3 separate regions of the Homo sapiens genome follow, and regions 2 and 3 are each linked to region 1. Evidence: promoter capture Hi-C in human tissues and cell types (Jung and others, 2019). All regions are on one chromosome and are shown on one strand. Each heading gives the region's core, a stretch centred on a gene start or on the middle of the fragment in contact. The rest is flanking DNA. Distances are from core to core; before and after follow the strand shown.

Region 1 (4,496 bases), core at 811-3,310:
TGGGAAGCGGGGAAGGACCTGGCAGGTTGGCATTGAAAAGAGTGGCTGCGGGGGATGGGGCGGGGCATGGAGCTGGAAGGCTGAGCCAGGGTGAGGCAGCGGGGAGGGCAGAGGGTGGACCTGGAGAGTGGGTGAGAGGGCAGAAGGGGGCTGGGCGGAGCGGGGTGCTGTTCCAGCCTCACCACGCCCTGCCTTCCCGGCTTCCCCTGGGCCTGGTCTTCCTGAGGTCACCCCGCCTCCTCCTGTGTCCGGACAGTCCTGACCTGGACACACTGCCTGCTTCCCCATCCCGGCTCCACCCCGATGTTGGCAGGCCACTTGACCTCCTGTGCCTCAGTTTCCTCATCTGTAAGAGCGGGTAGGAGCCACCTCTCCTGCTCCCTGCCTAATACCGACGAGACTGGGTCTGAACTCGGCCCCCGAGTTTCCTGCCAGATCTGCCCGTGGTGGGGGACAGGGGCCTAGACTTTGGGGAAGCTGCCCCCTCCCACCTTGACTAAGATCCCGCCTCCCCAAGGTGCCCACCTGCTCCTCCTGGGCCTTGCCCGGCCCCAGCGGGGGTGAGCACTGTTGCTGACTCTACAGTGGAAGGAGCCCGGGCTTGCAAAGGGGAGGACCGGGGCCGGGGACCCCTCCCTGGAAAGATGCTAGAGAGAGCATCCCTGGTCCCAGCAATGCGTCCGCCCCAAGCACAGCCCCAGTCCCAGGGCTCCGGTGGGGACCACCCACCGATAGGGTCCAGGGCCAGGGAGGGGCGCGTTGCAGAAGGGCTGCTGGTGGCAGCCGTGGTCATGGCCCACCCGCAGCACGGGGGCGCCTCCGCTGCCCGCCATGGGGTCGCCACAGGGCAGCTGGTCCGGAGACAGGGGCAGCGTCATGTAGTGGCCATCGGTCAGCAGCTGTGGGGAGGCCGGAATGTCAGCCAGTGTCTCCGGGTTCTGGAAGCCCCTGGAGGCTGCAGGAGGAGAGAACAGATGGAGGTGGGAGGGGAGAAAGCAGCTTTGTCCTTATGAGTGGGGGTTCTGTGTTCGCCCAGTCTCCAGCCCTGACCCCCCATGCCACCTCCTCCCTCAGGGCCCCCAGAGATAGTCCAGACCCAGTCGACTTTGTTACCCCTGAAGGGGAGCTTCCCTCTGGCCTTTTGTCCCCACCCAGAGCCAGGAGTGGGGAGCAGCGGGCAGTCCCAACCTGCCCAGCCCCAGCCCCAGCCCCATTGCAGTGCACCGGCCCTGCCCCACAGGAGGCCACATCCTCCCAGGTCGCAGCCTCGGTTCCCTGTCCAAAGGAAGAACTACTTGGATTCAGAGAAAGGGTTGCAGAGCCCTTGACAGCTGACAAACCCACCACTAGCACTACTCCCGGGATTTGGTGTTCACTACGTGTGTATTTTTCAATACACATATTACCCCTTTAGATAAAGCCCAATTCATCCACACCTACTCTCCCAAAGGCCCCCACAGGGGCTCAATCATTGAAGGCGCTTGCTGGTGAGGGGCTCCTAGGGCCCACCACTCTCCTCAGCCGTCACCCTCACCCAGGCCCCACAGCAGTCCCCGTACCATTGCTGAAGGCCACCACGAGCCAGACGGTATCGCTGGCGCTGGCAAGCCCATCGAAGACACAGCGCGGCTGCTCCAGGGAGAAGGTGGTGGCTGTGACCTTCCCTTCCAGGTCCCAAGCTGTTATCTGTGGTGTGTAGGGCACCAGCTCTGTGGCCACGGGGGACAAAAGGTGAGCCACGGAGACGGGCGTGGGGGTCCCTGGGGCTGCCTCTCCCAATCGGAGGGGGGCGGGCGCCCAGGGTCCAATCACTCCAGCAGGGCCCCCAGCCCCTTGGGTCTGGCTGGACGCGTCCATCCAGGACCCCCACTCACCCAGGCTCAGGCTGGGCCGGAGACAGTTCAACGCCAGGAGGAGCATCTGCAGCCCTAGGTGAGGCTGCCCCCAGGGTAGCCCCATGACAGCTGCCAGCACCCGGGAGGCTCAGGGGCTGGTCTGGCTGCTTCGGGCTGCACCTCACCCCCAACAGCTTGGCCCTGGAGAAGCTGGTTAATCAGGCTGCCCCAGGGGCTGGAAAGACCTGCAAATGTAAGTGCACCCCACCCCCTTCCTCCCAGGCCAGCCCACAGCAGGGAGGAGCTGGGGGGACTCTGGTGGGAGGCAGGCCAGTATCCAGCCCCACTGCCAGGGCCAAGGGAGAGGGGCCACTGGAACCCCAGATGCCAGCCAGGCCATCCCGGAGCCTGGATTGGGGCCCCTCCCAGTCTCTCCGCCCTGGGGAGGAGGGTCTGGCTTTTGGAAACAGGCTCAGGACCACATGCCTGAGATTCCTGTGCCCCAGGTGCCAGGAGCCTCCCTCTGCCTTCTGTCCCCACCCAGAGTCAGGAGTGGGGAGTAGCAGGCAGCCCCAACCTGCCCAGCCCCATCCCCATCACAGCACGCTGGCCCTGCCCCCCACGAGGCCACATCCTCCCAGTTCGCAGCCTGGGTTCCCTGTCCACAGGAAGAAGAACTTGGATTCAGAGAAAGGGCTGCAGAGCCCTTGACAGCTGACAAGCCCGCCACTTAAACACTACTCCCGGGATTTGGCGCTCACTATGTGTGTATTTTTCAAGACATAACTCACATACCTTCACAACCTTCACAGCTCAGTGGCTTAAATATATATATGTCACCCAGGGAGGTCAGTTCACAGCTAACTGGAGCCTCAAACTCCCAGGTTCAGTTAATCCTCCCACCTCAGCCTTCCCAGTAGCTGGAACCACAGGCACACAACACCATGCTCCGGCTAATTTTTAAAATTTATTTAATTAATTTTTTTTTAAGATGGAGTCTCCTTTGTTGTCCAGGCTGGAGTGCAGTGGCGTGATCTGGGCTCACTGCAACCTCCGCCTCCTGGGTTCAAGCGATTCTCCTGCCTCAGCCTCCCAAGTAGCTGGGATTACAGGCATGTGCCCCACGGCCAGCTAATTTTTGTATTTTTAGTAGGGACGGGGTTTCACCATGTTGGCTTGGCTGGTCTCAAATTCCTGATCTCAAGTGATCCACCCGCCTTGGCCTCCCAAAGTGCTGGGATTACAGGCATGTGCCACCGTGCCTGGCACCCCCGCCAATTTTTTTTTTGTTTTTTTTGAAACGGAGTTTTCACTCTTGTTGCCCAGGCTGGAGTACAATGGCTCGATCTTGGCTCACCGCAACCTCCACCTCCTGGGTTCAAGTGATTCTCCTGCCTCAGCCTCCTGAGTAGCTGGGATTACAGGCATGTGCCACCACACCTGTCTAATTTTGTATTTTTAGTAGAGATAGGGTTTCTCCACGTTGGTGAGGCTGGTCTCGAACTCCTGACCTCAGGTGATCCACCCACCTCAGCCTCCCAAAGCGCTGGGATTGCAGGTGTGAGCCACTGCGCCCGGCTGGCCAATTTTTAAAAATGTATTTTTTATAGAAACAGGATCTTGCTATGTTGCCCAGGCTGATCTCTAACTCCTGGGAGGATCAAGCAAATCTCCTGCCTTGGCCTCCTAAAGTATTGGGATTACAGGCGTGAGCCACCGTGCCTGGCTATTTTTTTTTTTTTTTGAGACATGGAGTCTCACCCTGTCGCCCAGGCTGGAGTGCAATGGCGTGATCTCTGCTCACTGCAACCTCCACCTCCTGGGTTCAAGCAATTCTTCTGCCTCAGCCTCCCTAGTAGCTGGGACTACAGGCACCTACCACCATGCCCAGCTAATTTTTGTATTTTTAGTAGAGATGAGGTTTCACCAACTTGGCCAGGCTGGTCTCGAACGCCTGACCTCGCGATCTACCTGCCTTGGCCTCCCAAAGTGCTGGGATTACAGGCATGAGCCACTGCGCCCAGCTGCTAATTTTTAAAAATATAGTTTTTGAGGCTGGGTGTAGTGACTTACGGCGGTAATCCCAGCACTTTGGGAGGCCGAGGTGGGCAGGTCACTTGAGGTCATGAGTTCGAGACCAGCCTGGCGAACATGGTGAAACCCTGTCTCGACTAAAATTACAAAAATTAGCCGGGTGTGGTGGAACGTGCTTGTAATCCCAAGTACTCGGGAGGCTGAGGCAGGAGAATGACTTGAACCCGGGAGGCGGAGGTTGCAGTGAGCTGAGATCGCACCACCGCACTACAGCGTGGATGACAGAGTGAGACTCTGTCTCAAAAAAAATATAATAAAAATATATTTCTTGTAGAGACAGGGTCTCACTGTGTTGCCCAGCCTGGTCTTGAACTCCTGGCTCAAGGGATCCTCCTGCCTCAGCCTCCCAAAGTGCCCAGATTACAGGCATGAGCCACAGCGCCCAACAGCTTTTAGTATATCAACAAGGTTGTGCAACCATCACCAATTCCAGAACCTTCTTACTTCCCCAAAACGAAACACTACACCCATTAAACGGTAACTCTCCATTCTCCCGTCCCCAGTGACGACTAAGCTACTTCTTGTTTCCATGGTTTTGCCCGTAATGGACATTTCATAGGATGCAGT
Region 2 (4,234 bases), core at 1,176-3,675, 78 kb before region 1:
CCGAAAGCCCAGGTTGGGTGTTTCTGAGATCCTAGGTCAGGAGGCCTTGCCCTGTGAGGAGTAGCAGGGGTGGGGACCCTCATGGAAAACAGTGTGGCCACTTTTCTGTAAGGCAGCTCTGCTATGCTGGGGGTCTTCATTAGTCCACAGTCAAGGTGGTCTCTCCCATGGGTGGAGGGGTCCTAGGGTATTTCCTGTGCCCAGGATTGCAAAGGGGTCCATGGCAGAAGTGTGGTCCCCAGGGACCCTCACTCACTGACCATTTTCCCGAAGTGGGGGCCTCCCCTGGCTCTGTACCACTCCGGGTGGGCAATTGTCATATCTCACGCTTCTCCATTCTCTGTGGGTTGTGTTGTTTTCTTCATGAATTCCGAAGTTTACTCTTGGATGATCTAGTTGAAGAGCTAGTGTTTACTGATCACACTGTCTTCTCTCCTTGAAATTGGTGCATATTAGCTGCTTCTAGTCAGCCCTCTTGCCCAGAATCCCCAAAAAGAAAATTGTTAGTTCAGGGATTGTAGCTTTTTTTTTGTTTTAACATGAGATATGTGATTATAATAAACTTCAAGTATTCAGGACCATTTTATGGATAAAAGGAGAATCTAACTTTTAAAAGTTGGGAAAATGATTTAATATTGGAAACTCAAGAGTTACAAATTCTTACAGTTATTTCAAAACTAAAGGTTTCTTTAGAGCTCCAAATTTAGAGCTATAAATCCTATATCCGTAATCAAATCCAGTACTGATAACAATGAACAATTGCTGAAGAGTAATATTCTCTCTCTCTTTACCAATGTAAGCCTTAGCATTGGTACTTTCTTGTATTATCTTTTTGCATGCCATTATGATCAGAAAAAACAAAAAGCTACCCAGAAAGGGCAGCCACATTCTAAATGATAGCTTTTACCTCCCTGAGGAGCTGCTAGTACCTACCTGATTAGAATTCATTTGTAAACAACAGAGGCCTTTTAAATCTAAATTACATTTCCTAATAATTTGTTTCTGTTTATTCAGTTTACATTAAGAAACTCTTCATTCATTGAGCAAATACCTACTGAAACCTATATTATGCCAGGCATTCTGATAAATACTAGGTATGTATCAATAAATAAAAATTACTCCATTTTCAGAAATATTTTGAATAACTCCTATGTATTAAGCAGGAATTTTTTAAATATACTAAAAACAGACAAAAATCCTGATCCTCATAGGGCTGCAGTCTGATGGAGGAAAGGGGAAATCATGCAAACAAATACATATATCTCTAAAATCTCTAAAATAATGTCAATAAAGGATTAGAATTATAAGGAGAAATAAAGCAGAGAGAACTGGAGAAATCCTGGGTGTGATGTTTAAGTCACAGTGGTCAGGACACACAGTGGTTTAAGTCATCTCTGGAAGTGATTTTGGGGACACAGATTTGAATAAAAGAGAGATTGAACTATAGAATATTTATGGGAAGAGAGCCAGGCGCAGTGGTTCACCCCTGTAATCCCAGCACTTTGGGAGGCCTAGACGGGCAGATCACAGGGTCAAGAGATCAAGACCATCCTGGCCAACATGGTAAAACCCTGTCTTTACTAAAGTTACAAAAATTAGCTTGGTTTGGTGGCACATGCCTGTAGTCTCAGCTACTTGGGAGGCTGAGGCAGGAGAATCGCTTGAATCCAGGAGGTGGAGGTTGCAGTGAGCTGAGATCACACCACTACACTCCAGCCTGGGTGGTGACAGAGCAAGACTCCATCAAAAAAAAAAAAAAAAAAAGAATATTTGTGGAAAGAAATTCATGAGAAGGTTGAGAAAACTGTGCCCGGCAGAAAGGAACTATTGCAAAGCCCTTGAGGTAGGAAAGTGCTTGACTTATTCAAACAGAAGCTAGAAAGCTAGTGGAGTGAGCAACAGGAAGAAGGGAAGGAAGTGAGATTGAGGAGGAGGATGCAATGCTAGATTACATAGAACAATATTGTTTAGAGTTTAAAAATATGAACTTTGTTCTATGTGTAATGAGAAGCCAATAAAAGTTTTGAACATGAAAATGACTACTGTGGTTAGTTTGCAGATGATGGAATACAATGTGTAATAATGTAAACAGGAAGACCAATTAGAGAACTATTGCAAGGGCTAAAGTTAAATTAGAAACAAAAAACAATGATGACTGGGCAAGGATATCAGACGATGCTAGATGGTAAATTTAGGATGCTAAATTTCAGATTTACTGGGTTTTAACAAAGTTTAAAGTTATTCAAATTTTTAATGTGAGCAACAGTGAGAAATAGTATTTTCATTTCCTAAGATGAGAAAGAATAGAAGGACATGTTTGATGGGAGGGTCGGCAGGAATCAGAAAAAAGGCTTTGTTTTGGATTTCTTTAGTTAGAAATATAGATTTTGCAGTTGAACATATGAATTTGGAATTCAGGAAACAAATTGGCATCAATAATATAATGTTTGGAAACTTTAATGTTGAGGTGATGTTTAAAGACTTAGGACCCGATAAGATTATTACTGAGGGAGTATGCAAAAGAAGAAGTCTGAAGACTCAGCTAGGATGCTTCAACTTTCAGAAGTTCAGAAGAAGGTATAATAGAATAATCAGTGTTACAGGCTGAATGTTGTCCTCCCAAAATATATGTTGAAATCTGAAGCTTCAGTACCTGTGCATGTGATCTTCTTTAGAAATAAGATCTTTTAAATGTAATCAAATTCAAAGGAGATCATTAGAATAGGGATCCAATATGACTGGTGACCTTATAAGAAGAAGGGATAGAAACACACAGAAGAGAATGTCATGTGAAGACATGGATGCATGAGGTGAGAATGACATGATATTGGAGGCAGAGATTGAAGTGCTGCTGCTACAAGTAGAGGAATGACAAAGATTGCTGGCAAACCACCAGAAGCCAGGAAGAGACAAGAAAGAATTCTTCCTTTATGAGTTTCAGAGGGGAGCATAGTCCTGTCAACATGTTGATTTTGGACTTCAATTCTCCAGAACAGGGAGAAAATAAATTTCTGTTTATTGTAAACTCCCCATTTGTGGCACTTTAAGAAGGCCACCCTAGAAAACCTAAGTCAGCAAGGGAGGAGAGAAATAAGTAACTATGTGGGAATTGACAGTAGTAGATAAAATAAGACGAGGATTGAGAATTGACCTTTGAAGATCACACGTGAACAAAACAGTAGGAGCATCTATGATGACTGCGGATGGAAAGTTGTGGGGTTGCAGATTCGAGAGATAAAGGGATTTTCACTTCCTGCCAAGAGGGAGTAACAGAGACTGGACTTACTCTCCCACATGAAGCAACTAAAAAAGTGGACAAAATATTTAAAATAAAAGTTCTCAATACATTGACCATTAAAAAATGAAAGACAATGATCCATTGACAAAAAGCATGAGCCTTTTGATTGCTCTATTTACTGCCTGGAGAAAGCTTCCAGGTCATAGCACAAGGAAGACCTGGGTGTTTTCTAACACCAACAACCAATTTTCCAATTCTCTGATTTTTTACACCAACCAGAGGTCCTACAATTAAATTCCATTATGACACTAACTACCGAGAGTTTGCATGAGACTCTATAGGTTTGAAAGCTTCAGTCCCACAAGACTGACCACACTTCAGACTCCAGTTGCTAATGGGGTGCCTAGACTACCTACCTTTATGCTTGGCCAACTACAAAGTAAGGGGTTCCCAGGACATCCCCCCATGGTTAAGAATTTGCTGTAGCAATTTACAGACACTGGAAACAGCTTTACAGACTATTAAAAGATAAAATTAGGCAAATTAAAATCTTAATGAATTTATTTGAGCATGCAGCAATATATGGATTGGCCAGCACCAGAAAACAAGCAGTTAGTGCTCCATTAAGGGGGCATGAGGCAAACACTTTTATAGGGGATGCATGGAAACATGACAAAGAAAATATTTGACTAGTTAAAGTGGAAGTCCTTAGAGGTTGACTGGCAGTAGCTGATTAGCTAAGCTTAAGTTTCATGTTACTGTTGACACTGAGTTGGGTTTTTGTTTGCTTCTGTAAGAACCCAAGGTGCTAGTTGTCTCAGCCTATTGGTCTCCCGATTAATTATTTTAATGTTACTATTGCCAGTTTATTATAAAGCTCAGGAACAGCCAAATGGAAGAGACGCAAAGGTCAAAGTATGGATGAAAGGGTGCAGAGCTTCCGTGACCTCTCCAGTTGCACCACCCTTCCAGCATTTCAATGTGTTCACCAACCTG
Region 3 (3,882 bases), core at 435-2,934, 80 kb after region 1:
TCCCAGGCTGGAGTACAGTGGCACGATCTCGGCTCACTGCAAGCTCCACCACCCAGGTTCACGCCATTCTCCTGCCTCAGCCTCCCAAATAGCTGGGACTACAGGCACCCGCCACTAGGCCTGGCTAATTTTTTGTATTTTTAGTAGAGACGGGGTTTCACCACGTTAGCCAGGATGGTCTCCATCTCCTGACCTCATGATCCGCCCGCCTCGGCCTCCCAAAGTGCTGGGATTATAGGCGTGAGCCACCATGCCCAGCCAAGGCCATCCTTTAGAGATCAAAGACAGGCCCTTAGGTCTTGAGATGCTACCGAGAGCCTGGACCCACACCAGTGACTGGGAAGTCCATGGAAGCAGGTCTGGGTATCTGCAGATACCTACCCTGCTAACCCCATAGGATCTGCTGGAAGAAGCTACTCCAAGTGATGGATGCATCTATTGATAACCAGACTCAGGTATCTGGAGCCAGGTTAAAGCATCCCAGCCTACAACCAGCCTCTCTAATACTACCTACAGCCAATGGACCAGGTGAGCCACCATCCTCAGGGGTCAGGCCCAGAGACTGAAGTCAGACTTCCACGGTCACAGGACAGCTTCAGTCCCTCATGCCGACTGGGCAGCCTGCCCTTGACTCCTCTATCCTCCTCCATCTCCCCTACCCACATAGGCACCAAGCTCCTCCAACTGCTCTTAGCTCCTGCGAGTCAGCCTCTACGGTCCCTGCAACCATGGGTCAGGCCTCATTGAATCCCAGTTTTCCAGCCTCCCAGCTGGTTCTCACTAGTTCCCATTTGTCTTCAGCACCAGCCACCAGGTGACCCTGGGTGGAGATTCAGTCCTCACCCATTCCAGGAGGGGCACCTGTGGTGAGGCTGGTGAGCCCATCTGTCTGGCTCCCTCATTACCCCAGTCCCTGGGCTCCAGCCCCCAGGCTGCATGTCACCTACTAAGGGCACACTACCCTCCCGTTGGGTGTGTGGCCACATGGCTCTGCCCAGGCCATCTCAGCCTCAAGGTCCCCCACTCCAGGATCCTGTTCTAGGATAACCCCTACCATGACCCCTCCCAGGGGCATGGCTCATCCCTCATGATGTCCTGACTGGTATCAGCTCCCTACCCACTTCACACTAGCATTTTCTTTTTGAGATGGAGTCTTGCTCTGTTGCCCAGGCTGGAGTGCAATGGTGCCATCTCAGCTCACTGCAACCTCTGCATCCTGGGTTCAAATGATTCTCCTGCCTCAGCCTCCTGAGTAGCTGAGATTACAGGCACGCGCTACCACACTCGGCTAATTTTTTTGTGTTTTTAGTAGAGATGGGTTTCACCATGTTGGCCAGGCTGGTCCTGAACTCCTTACCTCGTGAGCTGCCCACCTTGGCCTCCCAAAGGGCTGGTATTACAGGCGTGAGCCACCATACCTGGCCGCATCATCTTATACCCACTCCCAGACTGGTTCAAGGGCAGGGACAAAGTCCCCTGCACCCCATGCTGAGGCCAGCACAGGACCCAGTGTTGTCCTTGGGAGCCATAGTTTCTCCTCCCACTTCAGGGCCTGAGTTCACAGGCACGTGCTTGATGCCAGGGGCTTGAGGACCACAGAAGAGTAGGCCACCACCGCCCAGGTCAGATTCTAGAACGCAGCCTAGCACTATTTTATTATTATTTTTTGCGATGGAGTATCGCTTTGTTGCCCAGAATGGAGTACAGCAGTGCAATCTCGGCTCACTGCAGCCTCTGCCTCCTGGGTTCAAGCAATTCTCCTGCCTCAGCCTCCCAAGTAGCTGGGATTATAGACACCCGGCTAATTTCTGTGTTTTTAGTAGAGATGGGGTTTCACCATGTAGGCCAGACTGGTCTTGAACTCCTTGACCTCAAGCGATCCACCTGTCAGCCTCCCAAAGTGCTAGGATTACAGGATGAGCCACTGCACCTGGCCCCAGCCTAGCACTATTGGAAGGCCATTTCTGAACCCTAAGGGCCGAGGCTGGCATAGTACCACCACCAGGGCTGAGCAGCTCTGAAGCTTCCGCTAAGCTGCAGTTGGGCTCCTGATACTCTTCTGGGGCTCGAACTAGACTCAGCAGGCCCCACAATCCCACGCAGTACAGTAACCACAGCTGCAAATGCTTCGGTAGGTAGTTCTAATAGCCATGCTGCAAGCTGTAGCCCATAGCCAGCCCACTTGCCTGCAGCCACACCCAAGGGGCTTTTGCACCAGGGGCCATGAGTCAGTCCCACACCGACCTGGGGTAGCGGCACTCGATGGGAATCTCTGCGCGGTTAGTCCTCACGATGGACAGGTTTCCCACGGGGCGGGGGTCATGGAGCAGGAAGGTGCTGTACACCAGGGCATCGTCAGTTACCTGGAGGAAAGGTGAGAAGTTAATGCTGCCGGCCATCACCTGCCCGGGTACTCCCAAGCCATACCTGAGTGCTCAGGGAGGGCAGCCCACAAGGGGACAGAAAGACCACAGGGTCAAGGCCAGGTGCAGTGACTCATGCCTGTAACCCCAGCACTTTGGGAGGCCAAGGATTGCTTGAGGCCAGGAGTTTGAGACTGGCCTGGGAAACATAGCAAGACCCCATCTCTACAAAAGAGAACACAGGCTCTGCCACTGGTCAGGAAAGAGGCAGGACAGGTACTGTCTTTGTACCTCGGAATCTTTACCTGACACCACATATTGACACCACCACAGGCAGACTGGATCAACCACATGGCAGATACCATGTAACACCCAAGCAATAGAGGCATCAGGGCACATGACACATCCCTTCTGACACTCCCCCTCCATGCCCCCCAGTACATACAGTTTCCTCTTTCAGGAGAGGCCCAGGGCCAAGATAGCCGCCAGGAAGCAGTCAGGAAGTGCCCAGCTGTTAACACTTATCAGCTTCTGGCTGGGCGCTGTGGCTCACGCCCGTAATCCCAGCACTTTGGGAGGCTGAGGAGGGCAGATCATCTGAGGTCAGGAGTTTGAGACCAGCCTGACCAACATGGTGAAACCCCATCTCTACTTAAAAAAAAAAAATTAGCTGAGTGTGGTGGCACGTGCCTGTAATCCCAGCTACTCGGGAGACTGAGGCAGAAGAATCGCTTGAACCCGGGAGGCAGAGGTTGCAGTGAGCGGAGATCGTGCCATTGCATTCTAGCCTGGGCAACAAGAGCAAAACTCTCAAAAACAAAAACAAACAAAAAACACAACAACCCACATCAGCTTCTAACCTATTCAAGCCCATTTCACATAAGGTGGGGGAGACTGATTCAGAGGTTGCCTGAGGCAGGAAGAGCACAGGTGAGTACTACTGGGGAAATTTGCATCGTCCAATAGGGCTGCAGAAGGCAGGGCCTGCCTGGGAGAGAGTTTTATAGCAAACACCTAAGTTCGAAGATTTTGCTAGAATATTAGAAAAATGTGACGCTAGGCCCTACCCCAGTAGAGTGAAGGTATGAGATTCTCTTGAGAATCAGTATTTTTACAACCTTTCCAGGTGATTAGCATAGAGCCAGCACTGGAAACCCCTACTTTAGTCACTTCCTAACCACCTTTTGTTTTTTTGAGATGCAGTCTTGCTCTGTCACCCAGGCTGGAGTGCAGTGGCACGAACTCGGCTCACTGCAACCTCCGCCTCCCAGGTTCAAGCAATTCTCTGCTTCAGCCTCTGAGTAGCTGGAATTACAGGCACGTGCCACCGTGCCTTTTTTTTTTTTTTTTAAATAGAGACAGGGTTTCGCCATGTTAGCCAGGCTGGTCTCGAACTCCTGGCCTCAGGTGATCCACCTGCCTCAGCCTCCCAAAGTGCTGGATTACAGGTGTGAGCCACCATGACTCAACCCCCAACCACCTATTCTAAGCTCACTATCCCCACCTCTCATCTCAGGGA

What was found. Contacts are between HindIII fragments. The study calls those that stand out against the background at their distance.
Region 2: a fragment that was not itself captured here is called in contact with the fragment with the promoter of UPK3B in region 1 in 3 of the 25 tissues and cell types used here (dorsolateral prefrontal cortex, mesenchymal stem cells and stomach).
Region 3: a fragment that was not itself captured here is called in contact with the fragment with the promoter of UPK3B in region 1 in 2 of the 25 tissues and cell types used here (mesendoderm cells and spleen).

The regions. Positions count from the first base shown.
Region 1 is chr7:76,508,116-76,512,611 of GRCh38, reverse strand. UPK3B (uroplakin 3B) reads right to left here and starts at 2,060. Exons shown (of 6, transcript NM_001347684.2): 1 at 1,875-2,060; 2 at 1,560-1,709; 3 at 730-955. The coding sequence starts at 1,959. LOC124901675 (a long non-coding RNA gene) reads left to right here and starts at 1,879. Exons shown (of 2, transcript XR_007060388.1): 1 at 1,879-2,088; 2 at 2,504-4,431. RefSeq lists enhancers at 1-44, 45-696, 1,450-2,022, 2,023-2,595 and a silencer at 3,473-3,678. The HindIII fragment of the contact is 20,174 bases long and covers 1-4,496 here.
Region 2 is chr7:76,586,489-76,590,722 of GRCh38, reverse strand. All of the region lies in intron 2 of LINC03009 (long intergenic non-protein coding RNA 3009), which reads right to left. Among named protein-coding and RNA genes, the nearest start is that of POMZP3, 39 kb to the left of the region's middle. The HindIII fragment of the contact is 4,977 bases long and covers 1-4,234 here.
Region 3 is chr7:76,427,996-76,431,877 of GRCh38, reverse strand. ZP3 (zona pellucida glycoprotein 3) reads right to left here. Exons shown (of 8, transcript NM_001110354.2): 2 at 2,245-2,363. Among named protein-coding and RNA genes, the nearest start is that of ZP3, 5.0 kb to the right of the region's middle. The HindIII fragment of the contact is 7,406 bases long and covers 1-3,882 here.